Regions from separate parts of the Homo sapiens genome. Here all the other regions are linked to region 3. The links are contacts of gene promoters, found by promoter capture Hi-C in human tissues and cell types (Jung and others, 2019). All regions are on one chromosome and are shown on one strand. Each heading gives the region's core, a stretch centred on a gene start or on the middle of the fragment in contact. The rest is flanking DNA. Distances are from core to core; before and after follow the strand shown.

Region 1 (3,870 bases), core at 673-3,172, 130 kb after region 3:
CTACAGCCGCACACCACCAAGCCAGTCTAATTTTTGTATTTTTAGTAACGACAGGGCTTGGCCATATTTCCCAGGCTCCTCTGGACTCCTGACCTCAGGCGAGCCCTCTGTGCTCCGGACCTTCCGGAGTGCTGGGATTACAGGTGTGAGCCACTGCGCCGGCCTACGTTTTCTTTTAATAGTGTTTCATAGTTTTCTGGATACAGATGGTTTCATATTTTGTTAGAGCAAGGATTTCTTGGATTTGTTGTATCCAAGGATTTCTTTTTGTTGTTTTATTGCAAACGGTAGGCCTTTAAAGTTTTCCAGTTTCAGTTGACTTTAATATATTGGCTTTGTACTTTTGCTTCTTGTTACCTCCCCCACTCCTATCAAGCCACAGAAGAGGAGGCTCCACCGCACTTTTGATCTCCAAAATTATAGTTTAGGAGATACGGTTCAGAAAAGAGCGGGGAGGCGCGCTTCTTTCGCTGATGGGGTGCGCTCAGCTCCTGCGCTGCCCCTGGTGGCCGGCAGGGCGCGCCCAACCCTACGATTGTGGCTCGTGGCGCGCATGCGCATTCCGCCCGCGGCGTCGCCACAGGGTGAGGGAGCTTGGCTTCCTGAGAAGCCACCCAGGAGCCCCGGCTTGGGGATGACTTGAGGCCGCGTCTTCGGTGAGGAAAAGCTTCCCAGAGGAACTCTGCCGGGGAATCTCTAGAGTCATTGTCCTTTTTTAAAAATGTTTTTATAGGCCGGGCGCGGTGGCTCTCGCCTGTAATCCCAGCACTTTGGGAGGCCGAGGCGGGTAGATCATGAGGTCAGGATATCCAGACCAGCCTGGCCAACAAGGTGAAATCCAGTCTCTACTAAAAATACAAAAATTAGCCGGGCGTGGTGCCGCGCGCCTGTAATCCCAGCTACTCAGGAGGCTGAGGCAGGGGAATTGCTTGAACCTGGGTGGCCGAGGTTGCAGTGAGCCGAGATCGTGCCATTGCACTCCAGCCTGGGCAACTTGAGCAAGACTCCGTCTCTAAATAAATAAATAAATAAATAACGTTTTTTCGCTTTTTTTTTTTTTTTCTCTGAGACAGAGTCTGTTTCTGTCGCCCAGGCTGGAGGTGGTTTCGGCTCACTGCAACCGCCGCCTCCCGGGTTCAAGCGATTCTCCTGCCTCAGCCTCCAGGGTAGCTGGGATTACAGGCTCCCGCCACCACGCCCAGCTAATTTTTGTATTTGTAGTAGAGATGGGGTTTCACCATCTTGGCCAGGCTGGTCTTGAACTCCTGACCTTGTGATCCATCCGCCTCGGCCTCCCAAAGTGCTGAGATTACAGGCATGAGCCGCTGTGCCCCGCCATGCGCCGCATTTTCTTTCTTTCTTTCTTTTTTTTTTTTTTTTTTTGAGACGGAGTCTCGCTCTGTTGCCCAGGCTGGAGTGCAGTGGCGCGATCTCAGCTCATTGCAACCTCCACCTCCCGGGTTCACGCCATTCTCCTGTCTCAGCCTCTCCAGTAGCTGGGACTGCAGGCGCCCGCCACCACGCCCGGCTAATTTTTTGTATTTTTAGTAGAGACGGGGGTTTCACCGTGTCAGCCAGGATGGTCTCGATCTCCTGACCTCATGATCCGCCCGCCTGGGCCTCCCAAAGTACTGGGATTACAGGCGCCGCATTTTCTTATCCATTCATCTGTTGATGGACATTTAGGTTGCTTCCAAATCTTGGCTGTTGTGAACAGTGCTGCAGCAAACATGGCAGTGCAGACATCTCTTAGACATGCTGATTCCCTTTCCGGTATCTAGCCATCAGGGATTGCTGGAGCTTGTGGTAGCTCAATTTTTAGTTTTCTGAGGTACCTCCAAACAGTTCTCGGTAGTGGTTGTACTAATTTACATTCCTTCCAACCGTGTATGAGGGTTCCCTTTTCTCCACGTCCACCAGAGACACTTTCCTTAAATTCATAAGCAGAGATTCCCTCATGTTCTGGAATGTTCCCATGCGTTATTCTTTACTTTCTCTGGAAAGTAAAGATCTCGGAGTGAGATCTGTTTTAGGCATTTCCCTTCACAGAGGGGTTGGCAGCGGGAAACAGAGAGCACCTGGTGTTTCCTTAATCAGGATTGTTCTGGGAGGAAATCCATGCAAGTCCAGAGAAGTGCGTGGCCCAGGTGAGACTTGCAGAGAACAGTGTTCGTGCCTACAGCTTGGGGAGTCTGGGAGAAGGAAAATGAGCACTCCTGTGGATGTGCTTTATTCATTTCTTCCTGTCTTATTTTCCCTACAGGGTTAAAGTAGTTGTAAAGAAGAAAGTTTTGCAAAGTACATGTATTAAAACTCAAAACATTAGGCCAGGTGCAGTGGCTCATGCCTGTAATCCCAGCATTTTGGGAGGCTGAGGTGGGCAGATCACACGGTCATTAGATCGAGACCATCCTGGCTAACACGGTGAAACCCCGTCCCTACTAAAAATACAAAAATTAGCCGGGCGTGGTGGCACGCGCCTGTAGTCCCAGCTACTCGGGAGGCTGAGGCAGGAGAATTGCTTAAACCCAGAAGGCAGAGGTTGCAGTCAGCCGAGATTGCGCCATTGCACTCCAGCCTGGGCAACAGAGCAAGACTCTGTCTCAAAATAAAAAATAATAAAATAGAATAAAAATCATTATTTCCACTTAAAATAGTTCATAGCGGCTGGGCACAGTGGCTCACACCAGTAATCCCAGCACTTTGGGAGGCCAAGGCAGGCAGATCACCTGAGGTCAGGAGTTCAAGACCAGCCTGGCCAACATGGTGAAACCCTGTCTCTACTAAAAATACAAAAAAAAGCAGCTGGGTATGGTGGTGCATGCCAGTAGTCCCAGCTACTAGGGAGGCTGAGGCAGGAGAATCGCTTGAACCCGGGAGGCAGAGGTTGCAGTGATCCCAGATCCCGCCACTGCACTCCAGCCTGGGCAATAGAATGAGACTCCATCTCAAAAAAAAAAAAAAAGTTCATATCAAAAGGAAAATATAGGCTGCTCTGCCTGTGGAGTAGCTATTCTTTTGTTTCTTTACATCTCTAATAAACTTGCTTTCACTTACAAAAAAAAAAAAAAAAAAAAAAGGAAAATCCTAGCACTCTGGGAAGCTGAGGCAGGCAGATCACCTAAGGTCAGGAGTTCGAGACCAGAATACAAAAATTAGCCGGGTGTGGTGGTGCATGCCTGTAATCCCAGCTACTCAGGAGGCTGAGACAGGAGAGTTGCTTGAAACTGGGAAGCGGAAGAGGTTGCAGTGAGCCGAGATCATGCCACTGCACTCCAGCCTGGGCAACAGAGCAAGACTCCATCTCAAAAAAAAAAAAAAAAGGGCTGGGCACGGTGGCTCATGCCTGTAATCCCAGCAGTTTGGGAGGCCAAGGCAGGCAGATCACCTGAGGTCAGGAGTTCGAGCCCAGCCTGGCCAACATGGAGAAACCCTGTCTCTACTAAAAATATAAAATTAACTGGGTGTGGTGGCACATGCCTGTAATCCGAGCTACTGGGGATGCTAAGGCAGGAGAATCGCTTGAACCAGGGAGGTGGAGGTTGTGGTGAGCCGAGATTGCGCCACTGCACTCCAGCCTGGGCAACAGTAGCGAAACTCTGTCTCAAAAAAAAAAAAAAAGAAAATGTAAAAGGTAATTTTACTTTTCTGGTTTTAATAGAAGCAAATTCCTCAGTAATCTTTTTTTTTTTTTTTTTGAGACAGAGTCTCTCGCTCTGTACCCAGGCTGGAGTGCAGTGGCCGATCTCGGCTCACTGCAGCCTGCGCCTCCCGGGTTCAAGCAATTCTCCTGCCTCAGCCTCCCGAGTAGCTAGGACTACAGGAGTGCGCTGCCACATCTGGCTAATTTTTGTATTTTTTAGTAGAGAC
Region 2 (3,784 bases), core at 791-3,290, 160 kb after region 3:
GCCTCCCAAAGTGCTGGGATTACAGGCGTGAGCCACCGTGCCCGGCCCGTGGTCAGTATTTTCAGCCAATTCTTATTTGGTGTGTAGTGGTATTTCATGGTTTTAATTTGCATTTCTCTGAAGATTAATGATGTTGAGCATTTTGTCATGTGCTTAATTTGCCATCCATATCTCTTCTTTGATAAAGTGTTTAAATTGTTTTAAGTTGCATTATTTACTTTCTATTTATTGAGTTATCAGAGTTCTCTATACATTCTGGATACAAGATCTTTGTCAGATATGTGTTTTACAAATATTTCCACCAGTCCATAGCTTGTCTTTTCATCTTTTTAAACAATATCTTTGAAGAACAGATTTTTACTTTTTTTTTTTTTTGAGATGGAGTCTCGCTCTGTTGCCAGGCTGGAGTGCAGTGGCACGATCTCAGCTCACTGCAACCTCCACCTCCCATGTTCTCCCACCTCAGCCTCTCAAGTAGCTGGGATTACAGGTGCATGCTACCATGCCCGGCTAATTTTTTGTATTTTTAGTCGAGATGGGGTCTCATCCTGTTGGCCAGGCTGGTCTCGAAGTCCTGGTCTGAAGTGATCCGCCCGCCTTGGCCACCCAAAGTGATGGGATTATAGGCGTGAACCACCGCCCCCAGCCTTACTTTTTTTGTTGTTGTTGAGCCAGAGTCTCGCTCTGTCGCCCAGGCTGGAGTGCAGTGGCGTGATCTCGGCTCACTGTAACCTCCGCTTCCTGGGTTCCCACCATTCTCCTGCCTTAGCCTCCCGTGTAGCTGGGATTATAGGCGCCCGCCACCATGCCTGGCTAAGTTTTGTATTTTTAGTAGAGACTGGGTTTCACCATGTTGGTCAGGCTGGTCTTGAACTCCTGACCTTGTGATCCGCCCGCCTCGGCCTCCCAACGTGCTGAGATTACAGGTGTGAGCCACCACGCCTGGCCCAGAATTGACTTTTTTTTTCTTTTTTTGAGTCGGAGTCTTGCTCTGTTGCCCAGGCTGGAGTGCAGTGGCACCATCTTGGCTCACTGCAAGCTCCACCTCCTGGGTTCACGCCATTCTTCTGCCTCAGCCTCCTGAGTAGCTGGGACTACAGGCGCCCGCCATCACGCCCAGCTAATTTTTTGTAGTTTTGGTAGAGACGTGGTTTCACCATGTTAGCCAGGATGGTCTCGATCTCCTGACCTTGTGATCCGCCCCCCCCTTGGCCTCCCAAAGTGCTGGGATTACAGGTGTGAGCCACGGCACCTGGCCCACATTTTACTTTTGACAAACCTCAGCTTATTATTATTATTTTTTCCTGGTTTGTGCTTTTTATATCCTATCTGCGAAGTCCATGCAAGACCCAACGGCACTAAGATTTTTGCCTGTCTTTTCCACTGGAAGTTTCATAGTTTTAGATTTTACATTTGTCTCTGTCTGGCCATCCTTACACAGCCACAATACTGTATTGTTTACTATAGCATGATGGTAAGTCAGTTAAGTAATATGAGTCTTCCAGCTTCATTCTTTTTCAAAATTGCTTTGGTTTTTCTACACGTTTTTTCTGTGAACTTTAGAATCAGCTTGTCAGTGTCTACAAGCCCTCTGGGATTTTGACTGGAATTGCATTGAATGTATGAAACAATCTGGAGGACAGCTGACATTTTAACAATACTGAGTCTTCTGATTCACACACCCATAGGTCAGTGATGGGAGCAAGGCTCAGGCTAAAGCAGATTCAGGGTGTCTTTCTGTGTGGAACGTTTAGGAAAAGTATGTTTGCATGCCACTGTCTCCTGACCAAACCCTTCGCTTTTTTGTCTTCTAGTATCTTTATGTATCCTTATAGATTATTATAGGCAGTAATGATTAATGATGAGATATTAAAACGCCTTTGTTCTTTTGATTTAAGGAGAGGGCAAGTATTGAGGATTTTCCCTCTTGCTTTTGTATTCAGGGCCGGGCGCTGGTGGCTCACGCCTGTAATCCCAGCACTTTGAGAAGCCGAGGCGGGCATATCACGAGGTCAAGAGATCGAGACCATCCTGGCCAACATTGTGAAACCTCATCTCTACTAAAAATACAAAAATTAACTGGCCCTGGTGGTGTGCGCCTGTAATCCCAGCTACTCAGGAGGCTGAGGCAGGAGAATCGCTTGAACCCGGGAGGCAGAGGTTGCAGTGAGCTGAGATCGTGCCACTGCACTCCAGCCTGGGCCACAGAAAGAGACTCCGTCTCAAAAAAAAAAAAAGAAAAAAAAAATCCCAAAGTGTCAGAATTACTGTATTCAGCTATAGATGCATCCCTGTATATAAGATGCAGTTTCTTATACGTGTACAAATGCCTATCGCAGGCCAGGTGCGGTGGCTCAAGCCTGTAATCCCAACACTTTGGGAGGCTGAGGCGGGTGGATCAAGAGGTCAGGAGTTCAAGACCAGCATGGTGAAACCCCGTCTCTACTAAAAATACAAAAAATTAGCTGGGTATGGTGGCGCATGCCTGTAGTCCCAGCTGCTCAGGAGGCTGAGGCAGGAGAATGGCTTGAACCTGGGAGGTGGAGGTTGTGGTGAGCCGAGATGGTGCCACTGCACTCCAGCCTGGGCGACAGTGCGAGACTCCATCTCAAAAAAAAAAAAACAAACAAAAACAAAAAAAAAAACAAATGCCTATCACAGTTGGCTCAGTCACTTTTTCTGTGACTGTCATTGCTTCAATTTTATGTTGATTTATGAAACCTAAGTTTACACAGAAAAGAAATTAAGGACTAAATTAAGATACTGAAGAATTACTTAAGCCCCTGAGTTTTTTTTTTTCTTTTTTTTTTTTTGAGACAGAGTCTTGCTCTGTCACCCAGGCTGGAGTGCAGTGGCGCCATATCGGCTCACTGCAAGCTCCTCCTCCCGGGTTCTCGCCATTCTCCTGCCTCATCCTCCTGAGTAGCTGGGATTACAAGGCGCCCGCCACCACGCCCGGCTAATTTTTTGTATTTTTAGTAGAGATGGGGTTTCACTGTGTTAGCCAGGATGGTCTCGATCTCCTGACCTTGTGATCTGCCCGCCTCGGTGTGAGCCACCGGACCTAGCCAACCCCCTGAGTTTTTTTAAAGTTCTAATAATACTCATCAGGTTAGCTGTGTATGCAAGCATATTGTAAAATTGCTTTTTTTTTTTTTTATTTCCAGTTGGAGTCTAGCTCTGTCGCCAAGGCTGGAGTGCAGTGGCGCGATCTCAGCTCACTGCAACCTCTGCCTCCTGGGTTCATGCGATTCTCCTGCCTCAGCCTCCCAAGTAGCTGGGATTATAGGCAACCGCCACCATGCCCAGCTAATTTTTGTATTTTTAGTAGATATGGGGTTTCACTGTGTTGGCCAGGCTGGTCTCGAACTCCTGACCTCGTGATCCATTCACCTCAGCTTCTCAAAGTGCTGGGTTTACAAGTATGAGCCACTGCGCCTGGCTGTAAAATTGCCATTTAAGAGGCTGTGTGTAACTGGAGGTATTGATGGGTGTCTTTGAGAGGGTGGGGATTCAGAAAGGTTCAGGATGGGCCGGGCGCGGTGGCTCACGCCTGTAATCTCAGCACTTTGGGAGGCCAAGGTGGGCAGATCATGAGGTCAAAAGATCGAGACCATCCTGGCTAACATGGTGAAACCCCGTCTCTACTAAAAACACAAAAAATTAGCCAGGCGTGATGGCGGGCGCCTGCAGTCCCAGCTACTCTGGAGGCTGAGGCAGGAGAATGGTGTGAACCTGGGAGGCGGAGCTTGCAGTGAGCCGAGATGGTGCCACTGCACTCCAG
Region 3 (3,951 bases), core at 1,042-3,541:
TTGTGGTTACTGTTTTTCCCCCCTCCTTTCTTGCCTTCAAAGCCTCAATTTCTGTACTTGCTAAAATGGTGAAGATAAAGTGGACCTCACAATGGGAGTCTAAGAAACAAATGAGGTGTTAAAAGGAAAGCGACTGGGGCCTTGTAATAACAGTTACAGCTAACATTCCAGTGCTTTCTGTATGTGAGACAATATACTAAGCATTTTAAATTTAACTCATGCACAACCCTATAAGGCGTTTAACATAATCTCCATTTTACAGAGAGAAAACTGGGACAATGAGTGATTGTAAAATGTGCCTGTGATTGCACATTTAGTAAGTAGCAAAATTCAAATGTTAATTCTCTATCCTGCTATGTTCAAAGCATGAATACTAAAGTCATATTGTCATTTGTGCATATCTACATGCACAAACACACACAACATAAATCCTGGAGTCAGCTCCTATTCCCATGCACACATTCAGTCACTAATTCCCACAAAAATATAAATGAAGGACGCCCTGCCTCAACTGTATCACACTAACAAGCAGCACTTTCTTTTTCATGCCTTTTTGTGGTTCAAACTTCAGTGCCAACTCAGAAACACACAGCAGTTTCTCCCAGTTATACAAGAAATGACTCCTTTATACCTTAAATTGTGATAATACATAAATCTTAGAACAAAAGCTGGCACACAGTCATACGAAACATATACTAGCTATAATTATTATTATAAAAGTAATATATGATGGCAAAATATAAAAAACATACACAAGCTAAATAAGAACTATTATCTATGATCTCACCACAGGTAACCATTCTTAGGATGATGGAAACTATTGTGATATTTTTCATACAATGGAAGCATATGGTCATATTTAAAAGCTGTTTTTGTTTTTTTCCCATTATGTGAAGAACATCTTTCCAGGTCAATAACCTTATTTCTGTAAGATATAAACAACTCACATAAAATAACAAAAAAATAAAATCCGACTCATAATTGACAAAATACATAAAATATGTAGGAATATCAAGACCCATATGAAGCATACTAAAAACACCAATGAGAACTATAAAAATAGAATTAAAGAAATTTATAATTCGATTTTATTCTGGGATAGGAAGACTTCAGATTGTGAAGATAATTTGACCTCAAATGATTTATATAACTCATCGACTCCAATCAGAATCTCAAAATTCTAAAGTTTATGTGTAAGAAAAAAGGTTCAAGAACAATTCGGACACTTTTTTTTTTTTTTTGACAGGGTCTTACTGTGTTGTCCAGGCTGAAGTGCAATGGCATAACCATAGCTCACTGCAGCCCTGAACTCCTGGGCTCAAGTGATCCTCCTACCTCAACCTACAGAGTAGCTGGGGCTACAGGCATGCCCTACCACACCGGGCCTGGATGCTTTTGGAAATACAAAATAATGAGTGTGAACAGGCCCACTGTAATACATACAAATTATAATCATTATAACATTTGACACTGGCTCCAGAGAAGTTATACAGATGAAAAAAAGCAAACTGTCTAAATATGCAAGAGTCAGCATGCAATAAATGTAGCATTTCAAAGCCATCAGTAAAATTAAATTATTTAATGAATACAAGAATATTTGAAAGAAAATAAACGTAGCTATTTCATACAACTACTTTCAGTGGGTTAAATTTTAAAATAATGGAAACCCTAAGAATGTCTACAAAAAAAAACCACAGGTGAATGAATATATGTATAATTTGAGGGGAGATTTCGCTACACCATACCAAAAGCAAAAGTCACTTAAAAAATTTAAAACAGTCAATAAATATAACCATTAAAAAATACACGGCCAGGAATGGTGGCTCACACCTGTAACCCCAGCGCTTTAAAAGCCTCCTTCGATAGCGGCAGAGCCAGGCTGCTGGTGGATGCGGTCCAGCAGGGCAGCCGCTCCTTAGGGCCACGGCGCGGCAAGCGGGCTGGCCCGAGGTCGAGGCTAAACGCGCCCGAGGCTAAACGCGCCCGAGGCTGGCGCCTCCACGCCCGCCTGAAAGGACGCCCAGGAGCGGCGCCTCCGGAAAGGCCGTGCCCGCCCCACAGCCCAGAATCCGCGCAGCTCCGCGGCCCACGGCATCTTCACGACCCGGCCCAGCCCCAACCCGCCCCAGACCCGCATCCGCGCGCGGACGCCCAGGGCCTTGAAGCCGAAGCTCCCCGCGGCCACTCCCGCGCGCCTCCCCCGCCATTCCCGGAGCCCCCAGCGCCGGGCCCGCAATAAACTCACTGAACTCACAAAAGACGCCGCCGCCGAGTCGCGCCCGCGCGCCCGCGGCCTCGCGATCACGTGACACCGCCCGTCCCCCGTGTCCCGCGCACGCGCCCAAACCGTCGGCCTTTGTGCGCTCCCGGGCGGCTCCGAACGGGCCGGGACGAGTCGGGGACTGCACACGCGCACACTCGCACGCGCGCACACGCGTACACTCCCCTCTCACGTGGCAGCGAAGGACAAAGAGGAAGAACGGGCCACCTGCAAGCATTACCAAGAGTGCATGTGCGCATGCGCGAAGGAAGGAGCCCCGCGAACTCAACTTCCCACAGTGCCCCGCGTCCGGAAGTGCCTGTCGCTTGGAGACGGAGTGACTCCAAACGGGCTCACACGGTTTTCTGAGAAACATAAAGGGAAACCGAATCCACCAATATATATATATATTTTCTTGAGACGGCGTCTCGCTCTGTCACCCAGGCTGGAGTGCAGTGGCGTGATCTCGGCTCACTGCAAACTCCGCCTCCCGGGTTGACGCCATTCTTCTGCCTCAGCCTCCCGAGTAGCTGGGACTACAGGCGCCCGCCGCCACGCCCGGCTAATTTTTTTGTATTTTAGTAGAGACGGGGAGTCACCGTGTTGCCCAGGCTGGTCGCGAACTCCTGAGCTCAGGCAATCCGCCCGCCTTGGCCTCCCAAAGTGCTAGGATTACAGGCGTGAGCCACCGCGCCCGGCCCACCAATACTCAATTGGTTTGACTTCAGTTGAGGAAACCAGAAAAAATTTAAATATATTTATGGAAAGAAGGTAAGAATTAACAGAAAAAAGTAAAGTTGATCCATAACTGGAGTCGTAGGGAGAATTATAGGTAAGTCACGATGCTTATGACAGCAAGATGGGGCCGGGGAGATGGAGGAGAGAGATGAAAAAAGAGAAATAACCATAGACACATAGGAAATTGAATGAAAATCCGCTCTATACTAATAAATTTGATAATTTGTGACACAAATGATTCTCCAGGACAACATGGGCCAAATTTGACCCAATTTTATCCACAATTTGAAGACAAATTCAGAGATCCTTTGCCAGAAAGCATCATAATGAGTTGCTTAGTGAATTGCTTCAAACATCCAGTGATTAGAGAATTCTTATATTTATTCCCAGAGGTAGAACTCACCAGTGAAGTACTAGCATAAAAACAGACGCATGGACCAATGTGGAACAGCGTAGAAAAACCAGAAATAACCCCATGCATATACAGTCAACTAATCTTAGGCAAGTCAACTAATCTTGTGTCAAGAATACACGATGGGGAAAGGACAGTCGCTTCAATAAATAGCGTGAGGAAACCGGATATCCAAATACTGCTACGCAAAAGACCTCATTGCCCGATGTGCACAGAAGCCAATACTATGGCACCAGGCGTTTGAGAAAAGAAAAGCTTAATTGCGAGTTGACCAACAAAGTGACAGGAGTTTAGTTCAAATCTATCTCTCTGTGCTGCCCTTAAGGCAGCACTATTGTGAAAAAAGGTTTAGAGGGTGGATTCTGGGATTCACAGGTGAATGGTGAAGGAAAAAGGAAGTCTGGAAAGTCCCCGACCATGTGCAGTTGTCTCTTCAAGCCTCTTCTTGGGTCCCATGTGCAAATTAAGGTAGAGTTAGTGTGAAAAGTGCAGTGGAAATTCAGGCTGCGACATCAGCAAGCTCATTCTGCATGGACTCCGT
Region 4 (3,795 bases), core at 984-3,483, 170 kb before region 3:
TGCTAAAAATTTTCAGAGTGGTTACTAAATTCAGTTTTCCTGTGTATTGTCTACTATCTTTTTGCATGTAAAGAACAGCTTTCTGTGGATGCCTTTCCATATGCTGTGCATTCATAAAGTTTCTATTCAGTATGAGTTTTCTGGAAGATGACAAGATGATTCCACTTACAGAGTTTCTCTTTATATATGATTGTTTCTATCTCTTGTGAATCCACTTTTCAGAGTTTCGTAAAATTATCAATGTTTGTCATCTACATGAGTTCTCTGATGCATAATGAGCTGTGACTTCCAACAAAAGGCTTTCCCACATTCAGTGCACTTACAAGGCTTCTCTCCTGTATGTGTTCTCTGATGTGCACTGAGAATTGATTTTTGAGAGAAGGTTTTCCCACATTCATTGCACCCATAGGGTTTCTCTCCTGAATGAGTTCTTTGATGTACAATGAGTTGAGAATTCCTAATGAAGGCTTTTCCACACTCACTGCATTCATATGGTTTCTCTCTTGTGTGCATTCTCTGGTGTACAAGAAGGCGTAATTTCCCACTGAAGGATTTCTCACATTGACTGCATTTATAAGGGTTGACCCCTGCATGAGTTCGCTCATGTACAATGAGTAGTGATTTCCAAATGAAGGCTTTCCCACATTCATTACATTCATATGGTTTTTCACCTGAATGAGTTCTCATGTGTATAATTAGGTATGACTTGCTGCTAAAAGCTTTCCCACATTCACTGCACCCATAAGGCTTTTCCCCTGCATGAGTTCGCTGATGTGAAATGAGCTGGTCTTTCCTATTAAAGGCTTTCCCACATTCACTGCATTCATAGGGATTTTCTCCTGTGTGAATTCTCTGATGCACAATGAGTTGTGAATTGAAACTAAAGGATTTCCCGCATTCCCTGCACTCATGTGGTTTCTCTCCTGTATGAGTTCTCATATGTATAATAAGGTATGACTTGCTCCTGAAGGCTTTCCCACACTCACTGCATCCATATGGTTTTACTCCTGTGTGACTTCTCTGATGTACAATGAGCTGGGACTTCAAACTAAAGGTTTTTGCACATTGACTGCATCCATAGGGTTTTACTCCAGTGTGCACTCCTTTATGTACAATGAGCTGTGATTTGAACGTAAAGGCTTTTCCACATTCATTACAACTATAGGGTTTCTCTCCTGTATGAGTTCTCTGATGTACAATCAGGTTTGACTTTGTATTAAAGGCTTTCTGACACTCACTACATTCAAATGGTTTCTCCCCTGTATGAGTTCTCTGGTGTATAATAAGCTGTGACTTTAAACCAAAAGCCTTTCCACAGTCGGTGCATTCATAAGGCTTCTCTCCTGCATGAGTTCTCTGGTGTGAAATAAGCTGGTATTTCCGACTGAAGGCTTTCCCACATTCATGGCATTCATAGGGGTTCTCTCCTGTATGAATCCTCTGATGTATAATGAGCTGTGATTTAAAACTGAAGGCTTTCCCACAATTGTTGCATTCATGGAGTTTTTCTCCTGTATGAGTCCTTGTATGTATAATAAGGTATGACTTGCTCCTGAAGGCTTTGCCACATTCATTGCATACATAAGGTTTCATTCCTGTGTGACTTCTCTGATGTACAATGAGCTGTGATTTCAAACTGAATCCTTTACCACACTGAATACACCCATAGGGCTTTACTCCTGTGTGAATCCCCTGATGTACAATGAGCTGTGACTTGAATGTAAAGGCTTTTCCACAATCACTACAAACATAAGGTTTCTCCCCTGTATGGGTTCTCTGATGTACCATAAGGTTTGACTTTGTATTAAAGGCTTTCTGACATTCATTGCATTCATATGGTTTCTCTCCTGTATGAATTCTTTCATGTATAATGAGCTGTGATTTTAAACCAAAAGCTTTCCCACATTCATTACACACATATGGTTTCTGTCCTGAATGAGTTTTCTGGTGTGAAACAAGCTGGTCTTTCCTACTGAAGACTTTCCCACATTCACAGCACTCATAGGGATTCTCACCTGTGTGAATTCTCTGATGTATAACAAGCTGTGAATGGAAACTGAATGTTTTCCTGCATTCACTGCATTCATGTAGTTTCTCTCCTGTATGAATTCTCTGATGTACAATGAGGTATGATTTACTACTGAAGTCTTTCCCACATTCATTACAACCATAGGGTTTCTCTTCGGCATGAGTTTGCTGATGCACTAGAAGGTATGACTTGCTGCTGAAGGCTTTCTCACAACAGCTGCATCCAAAGGGTTTTTCGCCCATATACATTTGTTGGCACATAAGTTGCGATTTCTTATTGACGGTTTTTCCAGATTCAATACTTTCACAGTATTTTATTCCAATAACAGTTTGCTCATGTTTAGAATGGAAGAATGATTTTCCATGTACCTGAAACCCATTAGGATTATTTCTAGCATAATCACTAGTGAAATCTATATATTTCAAACTCTTTCCATGCGTGCCACATTTATGAGGTTTTTGTCTTGAAAGATACTTTGTACTAAGAAGACATAGTTTTCCAAATGTAGTGCATTCAAAGCTTTTTGCCGTACTTCCCAGCTTGTCTTTATTTTCCTGATGCCAATCCATAAGATCATCAATTTTCCAGACTGTGTCTAGAAATGAGAACAATTGGTCACATGTTATAAATCACATGATTGCGGTATACTAGAAAGTTGCCTATGAAATAAGAACAATTAGTCACATGTTATAAATCACATGATTGTGGTATACTAGAAAGTTCCCTGTGAAATGCCATATCATGAGGTTTTTAGTTTCAGATATCAGATCTGAATATAAATAAATTCTCAGGTATAAAAACACTCAAACTACTGGGTACTGAGAAAAAGAAAAACCAAACTGAAGATAGGCATAGTAAACTGATAAGAAGTTTAAAAGTTTTGCATATTGGATAAAGAAGGCAAAATAGGCAAAAGGAACAATGAAGATAATATAAACATGTCATTAGGGATCTATGAACATTAGATTTATTCAAAAAATAATTAAATACCTACTATGTGCCAAACACTATGCTAACTTCTAGAGAAATGGCAGAGAACAATGCAGATTACTTCCCAGTCCTCCTGGGAATAACATCTCAATACCTAGTAAATGGATAAAAATAAACTGAGAGGGAACATCATTCCTTAACAGGACAAGAAGCAGTTCTTAAAACCATCCAGAGAAATCAAAACTGAAACAAAAACAAAGCTTTCTACAATGTAACAAAAATTAGAATGCCATCAGACTTCTCTTTAGGAAAACTAGAGGACAGAAAATAGAGCAATGAGGAATAAAGTCAAAACATTTTCAGATGCACAGGTCTCAATGTTTGTATCACCCTTTTCCAGGAAGCTACTCTTGAGTTGCTCCAAGAAAAGAAATGACAGAGGATATAGAAAATAAAATCAAAGAGGAGATCCCAGGATAAAAATTGCACAGCAGGCCTTAAAAAAACTAAGCTACTCTGAAGCAAGTCAGAAAAACTTAGCAGTCAATATCACTAGGAAGAAAAAAGGAATACAATTAATAATTTGGCTGAAAGTATCAGCCAAGAATATTCAGATACTGAAAGGAGAGTCTGGAATTGAATACATGATGAAAACATTAATGGTAACAAAATTAAATTAGCAAAAAATTAACTACAGAAAAAATACAAATTTAGAAACAAAAATAAATCACTGTATACTTGCATGATTTCCCTATAAACAGGAATTACAGTCATACCAACATAAAAACTAAAGACAGATTTAACCAAAAATATGAAATAACTGTATCAGAATGATG
Region 5 (3,931 bases), core at 299-2,798, 140 kb before region 3:
TCCCTTGTTTAACTCCAAAGTTCAGCGTACAAAGTTGTTAGAAAAGAGATTGATGAAAGGAGGAAAAAAGGAAGTCGGATGACAAGAAGCATTTCTGGAAAGTCTAACATGCTATAAATGACGATCCAGTTGCCTAAAAGAGCGGTGGGGTGAGAAAGCTCCTGGCAAATTCAGACTGGAGTAGATGGAGTGCGCACACGTTGGCATTCAGGGAGAGCTTTTCAAGAATGAAAGAAAACCCCTACTCACCCAAATAGAAGCTGTCCGGACCCTGGTGGCCATCCCTACGGTCAGTTTTGTGTGCCTCGCTGGAAGTGACAGGACGCGAGGGATGCTAGAAGAGAGAGCACAGTGAAGAAAGAGGTCACCCAGCAGTCCCCAAACCCAGAGGGGGAGGGTCCGAGGCACCAGGGCTGCCTGCCATTCTCGGAGCTGAGGCTCCTTCCCTCCCACAGCACGGGATTCACCATCTCCACACCCTCACCAACACACAGGTTAGGGTCAGGCAACCGCCCCGGGTCAGCAGCAGGAGAGAGCTAAGGCAGATTAGTTCTGTCCCGTCCCGCCGCCTTGAAACCGGAGGAATTCCGCACCTCCGGCTCCTCCAAACCCTGAAGGGGCAGCAGAATAGAGTCCAGGGTACTGCCTCCACCTCCAGATCTGCAGCCAGAAGGGTTCGCAACCACTCCAGACTCGGCTGGCCCGTTGACCACGACGGGCGATGAACGCTATCTGAGGAACAAGGATCTCGCCATCGGCGCGGAACAATGGCGGCCGCTACGTATGTCGCACAGGAATTGCGTCATGGAGAGGCAAAGGCAAAAAAACTACAACTCCCAGAGGCCTCTGCGAGGAGTTACTCCCGCGCCGGAGGGCTCCGGCCAAGGGCCACCGGGAGGGGGCGTGCTAAGATGACCCGGAAGCTCAGGCCTTCCTGGCCAGGTCCCTGAGCTCCCGCGCTTGCAGGTTTTAAATTTTAAAGAGAATTAAAATACTTGACACCAATGGCTCAACGGTTGGAGGGATGTAAATTAGGTTACAAGTGTTCTAGTCCCTGCTTTACTGAAATGGTAAAAGTCTTATTTTGCTTTACACTTTAATAACAGATTCGTAAAATTCCCATTACATGTTAACATAAATAATATTTTAATGAAAATTACATATATTTTACAAAAGAAAAAATTTAGTAAGGAGTGGCTTCGCTTTTTAAGTCTTTTCTGACTTACTAGAAAGCTGGATTCTCATATCTGCTTCTATGTTTAATCTGTTGCGTATGTTGTTTTTGTTAAAGTATATAAAGATACAAGTCGAACAAGGGATAGTTTTGTTAGTGTACAATCTGAAACCACGTAGATGAACTTTTTCTACTCTATTACATAAAATCCGTTGGTCTACACTGCACTTTGAATGGATTCTTTTATCACGCATGATTTCGTAACATCATGTATTGGCCAGTTGGAAAATATTGGTTTACTTTAATGGCAAAAGCCGCAATTACTTACTTTTGCACCAACGGAAAATATCCACTAATCATTATTGATCTTAAGTATTGGGAAGAGGTGACATTCACAGAGGCAGATACAAGTTTTCTAGAATTCTTTTGTTTTTGGCTTTTAAAAACTTTTATAAATTTATGAGGTACAAGTGTAATTTTGTTACATGCATCAGTTGTGTAGTGGTGATGTCAAGGCTTTTAAGGTATCCACGCCCTATAGTACGTTATATGCATTGTACCAGTCAGGTAATTTATGATTATCCCTGAAACCCCCCCACACCTTTTGAGTCTTCATTGTCTATCATCCCACACTCTACATCCATGTGTACATATCCTTTAGCTCATACTTAAAGTGAAAACATGTGTTTTTCTTTCTGTGCCTGAGTTGTTTCACTGAAGATAGTGGCCACTAGTTCCATCCATGATGCTGCAAAAGACAATTTCATTCTTTCTTATGGCTGAATAGTATTCCATTGTGTATATATAACACATTTTCTTTATTCATCCATTCATGGACATTTAGGTTAATTCCATACCTGTGATATTGTGAATAGTGCTGTGATAAACATATGAGTGCAGGTATTTTTTTTATATATATAATGATTTCCTTTGGGTAGATACTCAGTAACAGGATTGCTTTATCAAATGGTAATTCTATTTTTAGTTCTTTGAGAATTCTCCACACTGTTTTCCATAGGTTATACTAATTTCACTTTCTCACCAACAGTGTATAGGAGTTTCCTTTTCTCCACATCCTCACCAACATCTTCTTTGTCTTTTTATTTTTATTATTTTATTTTATTTTTTGAGACGGAGTTTTGCTCTTGTTACCCAGGCTAGAGTGCAGTGGCCCGATCTCGGCTCACCGCAACCTCCGCCCAGGTTCAAGCAATTCTCCTGCCTCAGCCTCCTGAGTAGCTGGGATTACAGGCATGCACCACCACACCCGGCTAATTTTGTATTTTTAGTGGAGACAGGTTTCTCCATGTTGGTCAGGCTGGTCGCAAACTCCCGACCTTAGGTGATCCGGTCACCTCAGTTTACCAAAGTGCTGGGATTACAGGCATGAGCCACCGAGCTCGGCCTGTTTTTGTTTGTTTTGATTTTTTTTTCCTTTTGAGACGGAGTCTCGCTCTGTCGCCCAGGCTGGAGTGCAGTGGCGCGATCTGGGCTCACTGCAAGCTCCGCCTCCCGGGTTCACGCCATTCTCCTGCCTCAGCCTCCCAAGTAGCTGGGACTACAGGGGCCCGCCACCACGCCTGGCTACTTTTTTGTATTTTTTAGTAGAGACGGGGTTTCGCCGTGTTAGCCAGGATGGTCTTAATCTCCTGATCTCGTGATCTGCCCGCCTCGGCCTCCCAAAGTGCTGGGATTACAGGCGTGAGCCACCGCACCCGGCCCGGCCTGTCTTTTTAATAACAGCTACTGTGACTGATGTAAGATAATATCTCTTTTTTTTCCCCCACAACCTCGCTCTGTCGCCCAGGCTGGAGTGCAGTGGCTTGATCTCGGCTCACTGCAACCTCCGCCTCCTGGGTTCAAGCAATTCTCCCCGCCTCAGCCTCCCAAGTAGCTGGGATTACAGGTGCCCACCACCATGCCCGGCTAATTTTTGTATTTTTTATGAGAGACGTGGTTTCGCCATGTTAGCCAGACTGGTCTTGAACTCCTGATCTCAGGTGATCTGCTCACCTCGGCCTCCCAAACTGCTGGGATTACAGGCGTGAGCCACAGCGCCCGGCCTCATTGTGGTTTAAATTTGCATTTCTCTGATGTTTAGTGATGATGTTGAGCATATTTTCATATGCCTGTTGGCCATTTGTATGTCTTCTTTTGTAAAGTGTTATTTGTGTTCTTTGCCTGCTTCTTAATGGGATTATTTGGGTTTCGTTGTTGTTGTTGATCTGTTTGAGTTCCCTGTAAACTCTAGATATTAGTCCCCTCTTGTATGCAAAGCTTGCAAAAATTTTCTCCCATTCTGCAAGTGTCTCTTCACTCTGCTTACTGTTTATTTCACTATGAAGAAGATTTTTAGTTTAAGTCCCATTTCTCTCTTTTTCTGTTTGTTGCATGTGCTTTTGAGGTCTTAGTCATGAATTATTTACCCAGACCAATGTCCAGAGGGGTTTTCCGTAGGTTTTCTTCTAGTATGTTTATAGTTTCAGGTATTCCATTTAAGTCTTTAATACAGCTTGAGTTGATTTTTGTATATGGCGAGAGATAAGGGTCAAGTTTCATTCTTCTGCATATGGCAATCCAATTTTCCCAGCACCATTTATTGAAGAGGTTGTATTTTCCCCATGCTTGTTCTTGTTGACTTTGTCAAAGATCAGTTGGCTGTAGATATGTGGCTTTATTTCTGGGATCTCTATCTGTTCCATTGACCTATGTGTCTGTTTTTATACCAGTACTATGCTGTTTTGGTTATTATAGCCT
Region 6 (3,922 bases), core at 1,378-3,877, 220 kb before region 3:
GGCCTCCCCCACCATGCCTTCTGAACAGCCTGCGGAACTGTGAGTCAATTAAACCTCTTGTATTTATTATTTTTTCTTTGAGACAGTGTCTTGCTCTTTCACCCAGGCTGGAGTGCATTGGCACGATCTTGGCTCACTGCAACCTCCACCTCCCATCTTCAAGCGATTCTCCTGCCTCAGCCTGCCAAGTAGCTGGGACTATAGGCATGTGCCACCACAGCCAACTAATTTTTGTATTTTTAGTAGAGATGGGGTTTCACCATGTTGACCAGGATGGTCTGGATCTCTTGACCTCATGATCTGCCTGCCTTGGCTTCTCAAAGTGCTGGGATTACAGGCATGATCCACTGCACCTGGCCAAACCTCTTTTCTTTATAAACTACCCAGTGTCAGGTAGTTTTTTTGTAGCAATGTGAGAACGGACTAATACAATGACCAAAACTTGAGGATGGCAAGGGCATCTGAACTGTGACATTATGAACCCAAGGTTCAAGATCCTGAAGTTTTGCTGCAATGGGGATGGCAAGGGCATCTGAACTGTGACATTATGAACCCAAGGTTCAAGGTCCTGAAGTTTTGCTGCAATGGGGATGGCAAGGGCATCTGAACTGTGACATTATGAACCCAAGGTTCAAGGTCCTGAAGTTTTGCTGCAATGGGGATGGCAAGGGCAGTCTTTATCTGATGTTGTTCTTAGAAGACCCAGTCTCTAAGTTCTAGATTGTGAAGGGTTTGATTGTCCTCGGTCAGTAGACCATAAAAAAGATTTCTTTACCTGGTGAAAATACATCTTGACATAATGCATTAAAGCCTTGCAGCATTTAGTTATATCAGAGTTCAGTAGTGGAAGATAAATGAGGTTGTATTATTAGGGGAATAGGTCTTCCAGTGACTATTTTGTAAGGTATCACCTTATGGTTTACACTGGAAGTAGATCTGATTGCCATTAATATAAAATACCTTTGACCAAAGCAATCCAGTCATTTCAGTTAGCTTTACCAAATGTTGTCGTATTTATAATACCTTATTTAACTGCTTTAAAATTTGTCCAGTGAAACAAGTACTTCCATCACTGGAGATTTCTTCAGGAATGTCCCATGAGGAAAACACATTTTCTAATAACCTTTTTGCTACTGTTATAAAATTAGCCCTCTAGCATGGAAAAGTTTTTTCGGCCTAAAAATATATATATTTTTAATTTGGATCATTTTATTTCTTAGATAATGAGTCATGGAATGCAGAGATTTTAATAACAAAAGCTTTAAGGACTCAGGAAGATGAGGCAGCTGCTCTCCAGGAGCCCACACTTAACATTGGACTTATATCCTCTTAAATACTGATTGTTTCTCCAATTTAGGTGCATAGCACTGATAACCAATAGATTATCATGGGTAATTTGACTTTGACCATGGAGTTCATTTAAATTGCATATCTTAACAATTTAAGTACTAGCTGATTTAGCATGAACATCTGGCAAAATATTTTCTTGGTATTCAATTAGTTTTTTTCCTGCCTGGCTTAGTAGTTTTATAAACCAGCCAGTCTCTTCATTAGAGTTCCAGGAATTTTTACCCAATCCAAACGATGTGGTCCTAAAGTTATTAGAAACTTGTGTTTGAGAGCTTGTGTCAGGGTTCTTTCCATCCTTTCATGAATCTCCTTAAAGACACCATATTCTAGGATTTTATGTGCTTGTGAAGTTTTAAGAAACTGCATCAGAATTAAGCAATTAACTGTGGAAATGAATTTAAATGGTCATAAAGACAATTGAAAAGGAAATTTGGTTATTTCTGTGGTTTACAATAACTCAACATAATAACCAGAATTATGACTGATAGCATATACCCAGACATATTAGGATTTTAGAAATCCCACATAACTTTGGAACATATATTAATAACATATTCTTTAAGATATAACTTAAGAAGGTTAAGCCATCCTTTCTTGTTTGATAATGCTTCCCATGTAATTTCACATGTCAAATAATCCGTTTATCTCCCTTTTGGATGCTTCAGGGGACCTTTGTAGCATCCCAAAGTTAAAAGGTGAAAAAAGACTTAACTTTGAAGTTGAAATTTGATTTTTAGAAAGCCAATCAAATATGTCAAAGGTTTAAAACACTTTACCAAAATAAGATCACAGGTCACCATAAAATAATAGTCATTCTTTTAGCCAAAGTGATAATTAAAGGATTTTTTAAACAAAAACCTGTACTCTTTGAGAGAGGAGACTCAGTTTTCCAATCAAAAGATCTCAGACAGCATGAGACAAATTCTGTCTCTTCTCTTTTCTCTTATCTCTGTCTTTCTCTTTGCAGTTTACTCAAAAGGTGAACAAAAATATTTTACTTTGTCTTATTAACACTACATGAAATTTTTGTTCAGAAGAGAAAAACTAATTTTATTTTTGTATTAGTGCACTATACATATAAAGCTAATATTTAATAAAATCTTATAAATAAATCAAGTCTGTCATCTTTTGAACACATAAGATTTCTATAAACTCTATAAACCTTTTGTGTTTTATACTTTTCCCTAACTTTCTATATTTATCTAGTTTTATCTTTTTTTACTCCTTCAATTTGAAACCTTTAAGTAACTTCAAACTAGACAAGTTTTTTTAGCAAACACACATTTTTATGCCTTCATAACTTTCCCCATCAAAAGCATGTCGTGTTTTTGTTTTTGTTTTGTTTTGTGTTTTTGAGACAGGGTCTCACTCTGTCATCCAGGCTGGAGTGCAGTATTGTGTTTACAGCTCCCTGCAGCCTCAACCTCCCCAGGCTCAAGCAATCCTTCCACCTCAGTTCACCAAGTAACTGGGACTATAGACCCATGGCGCCCTGCCCAGCAAAAAATTATATTTTATAATTTTTTAAACAAAATATAATAATTTTTTAAACAAAAAATTATAATTTTTTAAACAAAAAATTATAATTTTTTAAACAAAAAATTATAATTTTTTAAACAAATTTTATAATTTTATAATTTTTTAATTTTTTAAACAAAAAATTATATTTTATAAGCACAGAGCTAAGCCTTTAGGCCTAAATAATGTATTATTTGGTCAAACAAAGGAAAAAAGGTGTAAGTAAAAGTTCACTTAAGACAAGATGGCCAGAAAAGAACTTTAAACAAAGGTATGATTTGTTGTGTGAATTTAAAAAAATGGTAAGAGTTTCTAATATACATACACAGACACCATAAAAATGGAGATTTCCTTTATAACTGTGAAATTATTTCACAAAAGGATTTAAAGGTAGCCAGCTAAATTCCAGAAAGGTGTACTTTAGTTTGACAGGTGGTCTTTTTTAACTTTGCTACTGTTTCTTAGCTGAAATTACTGAGTTTATGATGGAGGCCCTTAAAGAATAGGGCAAAGAAAGCACTTTCTATGCCTGGACTCAGCATGGAGAGATCTGAAAGAGAAGCAAGAACCTACTTTACCTGAGAGCTTACCTTTTAAAAACACTCTATCTAGGATAACTTTCTTTTCACCTTCGAGGTAGGATGATGACCAAGCCAAAAGGTTAGCAAATTTAATGTTTCTTATCAATTAGTCACTTGAGCTTTTTATTTGCTTTTTATAAAGAGTCTTTAAATAAAAATACTGAAATCTTTTTAGAAGCTTCTGCATATCAATAGGTATCCCTAGATGAGACTAATTCAGGAGCCCTCATTTTCAAGTGCACTTCTTCAAATGCAGTGTTGTTCATTTGAAATGTTCCACTGTAACTTTCACACTGAGCAATTCACACTGCGGATTGGATCTGTGTCCCCACCCAAATCTCATGCCAAATTGTGGTCCTCAGTGTTGGAAGAGGGACCTGGTGGGAAGTGACTGGATCATAGAGGCAGACTTCCACCTTGCTGTTCTTGTGATCATGAGTGTGCTCTCATGAGAACTGCTTATTTAAAAGTGT

The links. The method cuts DNA at HindIII sites, captures the fragments that hold promoters and counts their contacts. A contact is called where the count stands out against the background at its distance.
Region 1: a contact is called between a fragment that was not itself captured here and the fragment with the promoter of ZNF84 in region 3, in 2 of the 25 tissues and cell types used here (dorsolateral prefrontal cortex and thymus).
Region 2: a fragment that was not itself captured here is called in contact with the fragment with the promoter of ZNF84 in region 3 in 2 of the 25 tissues and cell types used here (IMR-90 fibroblasts and lymphoblastoid cells).
Region 4: a fragment that was not itself captured here is called in contact with the fragment with the promoter of ZNF84 in region 3 in 11 of the 25 tissues and cell types used here (H1 embryonic stem cells, adrenal gland, dorsolateral prefrontal cortex and 8 more).
Region 5: a contact is called between a fragment that was not itself captured here and the fragment with the promoter of ZNF84 in region 3, in 3 of the 25 tissues and cell types used here (dorsolateral prefrontal cortex, hippocampus and spleen).
Region 6: a fragment that was not itself captured here is called in contact with the fragment with the promoter of ZNF84 in region 3 in 6 of the 25 tissues and cell types used here (H1 embryonic stem cells, IMR-90 fibroblasts, dorsolateral prefrontal cortex and 3 more).

Annotation. Positions count from the first base shown.
Region 1 is chr12:132,901,584-132,905,453 of GRCh38, reverse strand. No RefSeq gene overlaps it. Among named protein-coding and RNA genes, the nearest start is that of CHFR-DT, 16 kb to the right of the region's middle. RefSeq lists a cis regulatory region at 3,611 and an enhancer at 3,527-3,696. The HindIII fragment of the contact is 3,833 bases long and covers 6-3,838 here.
Region 2 is chr12:132,877,849-132,881,632 of GRCh38, reverse strand. All of the region lies in intron 2 of CHFR (checkpoint with forkhead and ring finger domains), which reads left to right. Among named protein-coding and RNA genes, the nearest start is that of CHFR, 7.9 kb to the left of the region's middle. The HindIII fragment of the contact is 8,676 bases long and covers 1-3,784 here.
Region 3 is chr12:133,035,849-133,039,799 of GRCh38, reverse strand. It overlaps ZNF84 (zinc finger protein 84), which reads right to left and starts at 2,291. Exons shown (of 5, transcript NM_001289971.2): 1 at 2,255-2,291. ZNF84-DT (ZNF84 divergent transcript) reads left to right here and starts at 2,578. Exons shown (of 3, transcript NR_110091.1): 1 at 2,578-3,031. RefSeq lists a silencer at 2,185-2,364 and an enhancer at 2,585-2,674. The HindIII fragment of the contact is 8,441 bases long and covers 1-3,951 here.
Region 4 is chr12:133,200,973-133,204,767 of GRCh38, reverse strand. ZNF268 (zinc finger protein 268) reads right to left here. Exons shown (of 6, transcript NM_003415.3): 6 at 1-2,624. The coding sequence ends at 238. Among named protein-coding and RNA genes, the nearest start is that of ZNF268, 21 kb to the right of the region's middle. The HindIII fragment of the contact is 4,114 bases long and covers 177-3,795 here.
Region 5 is chr12:133,178,349-133,182,279 of GRCh38, reverse strand. ZNF268 (zinc finger protein 268) reads right to left here and starts at 785. Exons shown (of 6, transcript NM_003415.3): 1 at 594-785; 2 at 250-334. The coding sequence starts at 282. RefSeq lists enhancers at 398-597, 638-947, 543-1,067. The HindIII fragment of the contact is 5,070 bases long and covers 1-3,931 here.
Region 6 is chr12:133,256,011-133,259,932 of GRCh38, reverse strand. No RefSeq gene overlaps it. Among named protein-coding and RNA genes, the nearest start is that of ANHX, 22 kb to the right of the region's middle. The HindIII fragment of the contact is 4,704 bases long and covers 276-3,922 here.